Linked DNA regions of Homo sapiens: region 1 is linked to region 2. The links are contacts of gene promoters, found by promoter capture Hi-C in human tissues and cell types (Jung and others, 2019). All regions are on one chromosome and are shown on one strand. The core of a region is centred on a gene start or on the middle of the fragment in contact, and the rest is flanking DNA. Distances in the headings are between cores, read along the strand shown. Region 1 holds the start of SERPINE1 (serpin family E member 1). Region 2 has its middle 25 kb from the start of LNCPRESS1.

The links. The method cuts DNA at HindIII sites, captures the fragments that hold promoters and counts their contacts. A contact is called where the count stands out against the background at its distance.
Region 1: a contact is called between the fragment with the promoter of SERPINE1 here and a fragment that was not itself captured in region 2, in 7 of the 25 tissues and cell types used here (H1 embryonic stem cells, aorta, bladder and 4 more).

The regions. Positions count from the first base shown.
Region 1 is chr7:101,125,735-101,128,467 of GRCh38, reverse strand. It overlaps SERPINE1 (serpin family E member 1), which reads right to left and starts at 1,364. Exons shown (of 9, transcript NM_000602.5): 1 at 1,224-1,364; 2 at 1-75. The coding sequence starts at 74. RefSeq lists enhancers at 1-148, 149-928, 1,709-2,488. The HindIII fragment of the contact is 16,005 bases long and covers 1-2,733 here.
Region 2 is chr7:101,273,287-101,275,986 of GRCh38, reverse strand. No RefSeq gene overlaps it. Among named protein-coding and RNA genes, the nearest start is that of LNCPRESS1, 25 kb to the left of the region's middle. The HindIII fragment of the contact is 4,444 bases long and covers 1-2,700 here.

The DNA of each region.
Region 1 (2,733 bases), core at 115-2,614, 150 kb after region 2:
TGCACAGCAGACCCTTCACCAAAGACAAGGGCCAGGCCCAGGACTAGGCAGGTGAGGGCTGGAGACATCTGCATCCTAGAGCAATGGAAAGAGGGCTGGTGAAGGAATCGTTCTGGAAGACAGGCGGGAGGGGAGGGGAGCTGGCCAGCTGTGGGCCCTGCTCTTCTTGTTTCCTGCAAGCAGGTGGTAAGTGAACACTAGGGCAAGGTGCAGGAAGAGACCATGACATGTTCAGGTTCTAAGCCCATCCCACTCCGTCTCACTCAGACTGACTTATCCCCGGGCAGTGGCAGGGAGTCTTCGCCCATCTTGCCCTGTGGGAATCTTGGAATCCAGTCCATCTCCCTTCCCTCTGTGTCCCGTAAAAAAGCCTTAGAAGAAAAGCAGGTGAGAAGTCATTACCACTCTCTGCCTTTGCAGCCCAGGGGGAATTTAGCCCAGACTCAATTATCAATTATCACAACATCTTTGATTTGCATAAGCTTTAAATTTGCTTTCTTTTCTTTTCTTTCTTTTCTTTCTTTCTTCCTCTTTCCTCTTTCTTTCTTTCTTTCTTCTTTACTTCCTTCCTTCTTTCCTCTCTCTCTTTCTCTCTCTTTCTTCCTTCCTTTCATTCATTTTTAGAGACAGGGTCTTGCTCTGTCACCCAGGCTGGGTGCAATGGCTCAGTCTTGGCTCCCTGCAGCCTCCGCCTCCCCAGCTGAAGCAATCCTCCCACCTCAGCCTCCCAAGTAGCTGGGAATACAGGCACACCAGCACGCCCAGCTAATTTTTGTATTTTTTTGGGAGAGCAGGGTTTTGCCATGTTGCCCAGGCTGGTCTCAAACTCCTGGGCTCAAGTTATCTGCCTGCCTCAGCCTCACAAAGTGCTGGGATTACAGGCATGAGCCACAGTGCCCAGCCTTAATTCTCTTAATGCTTTCCCAGCGATTGTTTCATTCAAGTTAGCAGGCATGAGGTGGGAAATGGGTAAGTGTCTTGATGCAGAGGGACTGAGAGAGTCAAGGTTCTTGTTACTGGGTGATGGGGTTGTTGGTGACGCCTGACCATCCTCCCTGCTCTCCTGCAGTCACCCCTAGGGCAGGGTCGACCCAAGGCTGCAGGTCCGAGGAAAAGAAAATAGAGGAATAGCGGGGGATCATGGAGGGAGGAGATTCTGGGGAGGCGAGTTCTCTGCCTTAAGCCCGAAGTAAGAGGTTGGAGGGAGTTTGCTTTTCTCCTACCTGAAGTTCTCAGAGGTGCCTTGCGATTGGCGGTTCGTCCTGCTCTGGCGGCGGCTGCTGAGCTGCAGGAATTCAGCTGCTGGAGGGGGGCGTGTGGGTCTTCTTGACAGCGCTCTTGGCCCTGCAGCCAAACACAGCTGTGCTCCTCTGTGGGCCACTGCCTCCTTTTATACCAGATGTGGGCAGGAAATAGATGAACTCATGTTCCAGCCCCACCCACTCACTGGCTCTGGGAGTCCGTCTGAACAGCCAGCGGGTCCCCCTCGACACCTCCCTCTCTGGGACTTGCTGAGGCATGTGTGTGTGTGTGTGTGTGCTGCTCTGTGTGTGTACGTGTGTAAGAGCATTCAGGAACAATTGAGCAAACCCCAATAGCCTTGGCCTGAGAACCTCCCTTGACCTTTCTGCCCTCTGCCTGTGTCTGTCTCTCCCGGATGTCCTGCCAGGTTGACTGTCTGCCATGCCGGGTGACCCAAAAAGCCTAGGACCCCTAGTGTTCAGCTTGGAGAAAAAAAAAACAGCTCACGTTGCCTGCTTTTCCTTTGGCGAACCAGGTCACTGTGGAGTTATCAAAGATAACCTCCATCAAAACGTGGAAGTTTTCCCCCAGGGCTGTCCACCCGGTGCTCTGGACCACCTCCAGGAAAGAGCGCCCCTCCCTCCTCCTGGGCCCAGCCCAACAGCCACAGGGCATGCAGCCAGCCACGTGATTGTCTAGGTTTTGTCTGTCTAGGACTTGGGCCCAACAGAGGACTCTTGGTCTTTCCCTCATCCCTGCCATGTGCCCGGCCGCCTCCGATGATACACGGCTGACTCCCCACGTGTCCAGACTCTCTCTGTGCCCCTGAGGGCTCTCTTGTGTCAACAACCTTGTCTGGCTGAGGTTGGAGGTGTGCTGGGTGGGGTGGTGGTGGCTGAACGGGACCAGGGGTTACCATGGTAAAAGCTTGGTAAGGAAACAGGAGACCAACGTGTAAGTTTCACTTCTTCGAGCTGCCCGCTAGGACTTGGGGCAGCTTGTCCTTTATCCTCTTCCTCCAGACACAGACACAAGGGGAAAAGGGATAGAAACAGAGTGTCAATTCATGGCAGGTTTGCAGGGTGTGCTTTTAGGGCAAGGGGGTGAGGGGAGGAAGAGTGACCGATAGATTCTGTGGAGCAGTGGTCCTCAACGTTTTTGGCACCAGGGACTGGTTTCATGGAAGACAATTTTTTCACAGACCAGGGTGGGATGGTTTCGGGATGATTCAAGCACATTACATTTATTGTGTGCTTTATTTCTATTATTATTACATTGTAATATATATAATGAAATAATTCCACAATTCACCATCGTGTAGAATCAGTGGGAGCCCTGAGCTTGTTTTCCTGCAACTAGATGGTCCCATCTAGGGGTGATGGGAGACCGTGACAGATCATCAGGCATTAGATTCTCATAGGGAGCTTGCAACCTAGATCCCTCACATGAACAGTTTAGAATAGGGTTCGAGCTCCTATGAGAATCTAATGC
Region 2 (2,700 bases), core at 140-2,639:
CATACCTATCCTGGACCCCCCACTTCCAGTCTCTGATCTGTAAGTCACGTGTCTTTATTTTCTAGGCAGATTTCTGCTATTGCAGCCTAAAGCATCCCTCACCCCTTCTCAGAAACCCGTGGCTCTTGCTATAACTCCCAGTGGAAAATCAACCTAAGTTTAGACATTAGAAATGGAATTATTGCTTATATGGAAGGAATAAGAATCAGGATTGGTCCTTGCCTACAGAGGAATCCCAGCTCTGAGTCCTAACCCCAAGGCCTAGGGGACACAGACAAGGAAAGAAAGAGATATCTGGGAAAGTTCCAGACATCTTCTTTTTTTTTTTTTTTTTTTTTTTTTTTTTTTTTGTCTCACTGTCGCCTAGGCTGGAGTGCAATGGCACAATCTTGGCTTACTGCAACCTCCGCCTCCCGGGTTCAAGTGATTCTCCTGCCTCAGTCTCCTGAGCAGCTGGAATTACAGGCATGCACCATCACACCCAGCTAATTTTTGTATTTTTAGTAGAGACGGAGTTTCACCATGTTGGTCAGGCTGGTCTTGAACTCCTAACCTCGTGATCCACCTGCCTCAGCCTCCCAAAATGCTGGGATTTCAGGCATCAGCCACCGTGCCCGGCCTCTTTCTGGCTTCTCTAAGCAGAGCGAGGAGCCAGAAATCTGCAAAACCTAACTCACCTCTATTAAGAACTCAATGGGAGAGTTACTGTAGGGAGAGGCAAGAATGTATTTTGGAAGACTTAGAATGCTGGTCCAAGGACAAGGAACGAGGCTGGTAGGAGAGAAGCAATCAGTTGATGAGGATTAGAGAAAGCTTTCTTCTGGTCCGACTTTCGCCAAACAACGCGTTGTGTGTGTGTGTGTGTGTGTGTGTGTGTGTGTGTGTGTGTGTTGCTTCAACACAAGACATATGCCTGATTCTTCCCTTATGAAATGAGAAGCTGAATGCAAGAGCTCTAGCCCGTCCTCTTTAAATCTCTGTTTTTGAAAATATAAAACAAAGATAAACTGGCATCCTCCTAATGTATCTTTGAAATACACATTACTGGCCAGGCGCGGTGGCTCACGCCTGTAATCCCAGCACTTTGGGAGGCCTACGTGGGCGGATCACGAGGTCAGGAGATCAAGACCATCCTGGCTAACACGGTGAAACGCTGTCTCTACTAAAAATACAAAAAATTAGCTGAGCGTGGTGGCGGGCGCCTGTAGTCCCAGCTACTGGGGAGGCTGAGGCAGGAGAATGGCGTGAACCCGGGAGGTGGAGCTTGCGGTGAGCCAAGATCGTGCTACTGCACTCCAGCCTGGGTGACAGAGCAAGACTCTGTCTCAAAAAAAAAAAAAGAAAGAAAGAAATACACATTACTTCATTTTTCTCAGACCTGGAGAAAAAGCACCCCCAGCCCCATTTTCCCATCTCCAAATAATCTTCAGCATTTGTAGAGATGTGGCCCCTGGAAGTTCATCAGATATATGGGGCCCACCCACGCGTGTGTTGCGATGATATTAGAATTTGCAACTGCCAGATTCTGGCACCAAACCCAGCACCTCTCAATACTGTCCTGCACCCCACATATTGTATGATTTTTTGTTTTTTTGTTTTTTTTTTTTGAGATGGAGTCTCGCTCTGTTGCCCAGGCTGGAGTGCAGAGGCATGATCTCGGCTCACCACAACCTCCGCCTCCTGGGTTCAAGAGATTTTCCTGCCTCAGCCTCCTGAGTAGCTGGGACTATAGGCATGTGCCACCATGCCCGGCTAATTTTTGTATTTTTAGTAGAGACAGGGTTTCACTATGTTGGCCAGGCTGGTCTCGAGCTCCTGACCTCGTGATCCACCCGCTTCAGCCTCCCAAAGTGCTGGAATTACAGGCATGAGCCACCACACCCGGCTTGTATGACGTTTTGAAGGGCAAAGCCAATGCACCATTGATGTTTGCCTGTTGCTTCATTCACTCAATAGAGATGTAAGGAATGAAAGCTTTGATTGGGGTGAAAGAAGTAAAAAAGTTTAAACCCCTACTTTAATGGGATTAATGCTTTAATGTGAATATTAATAAACCCTGAACTCCTCCAGCAAGTTTCTCTATATATCACTGAGGATTCTGTGAAATCCAATAAGGAAAAAAACTGGAAGACTTTTTCCCCTTCTTCGTCATCAAGGTTTTTCTCGGGGATGAATTGGCCTGATTAGTGCCTGAAAGTTCTCCCACGATCTGTCCAAGCTCATTCCTTTTTTTGTGTGAATTCTCCAATGATGAAAAAGCTAAGCTTGTCCCCAAGTGATTTTCCACACTAATTATACTCCCGAGGCTTCTCTCCAGTGTGGATGATCTCACATTCCGTATTCTCCACGCTTCCCCGAGTTTTCCGTCTTCATTACGTATGACCATTTTAAGTCCCAACTGAATTAGCTGATATTGTCTAAGTATGGAACTCTGATTGAAGGTTCTTCCTCATCCATTATACTCACAAGGCCTCTCTCTGCTACAAAATCCCAGATGTCTGATTAGCTCTGGGCACCATCTCAAAGCATTTTTACATCCATTACGCACATATGATTTTCCTCCATTGTGAATTCTCCGATGTTGAATGAGCTGTACTTTCCCGAAAGCTCTTTGCACGTTTCTGCATTGATAGAGTCTTTGTTGCATCTGAATTAGCTGATGCTGCATTGGAATGTTGACAATGCCTCCCCCATCCCCAG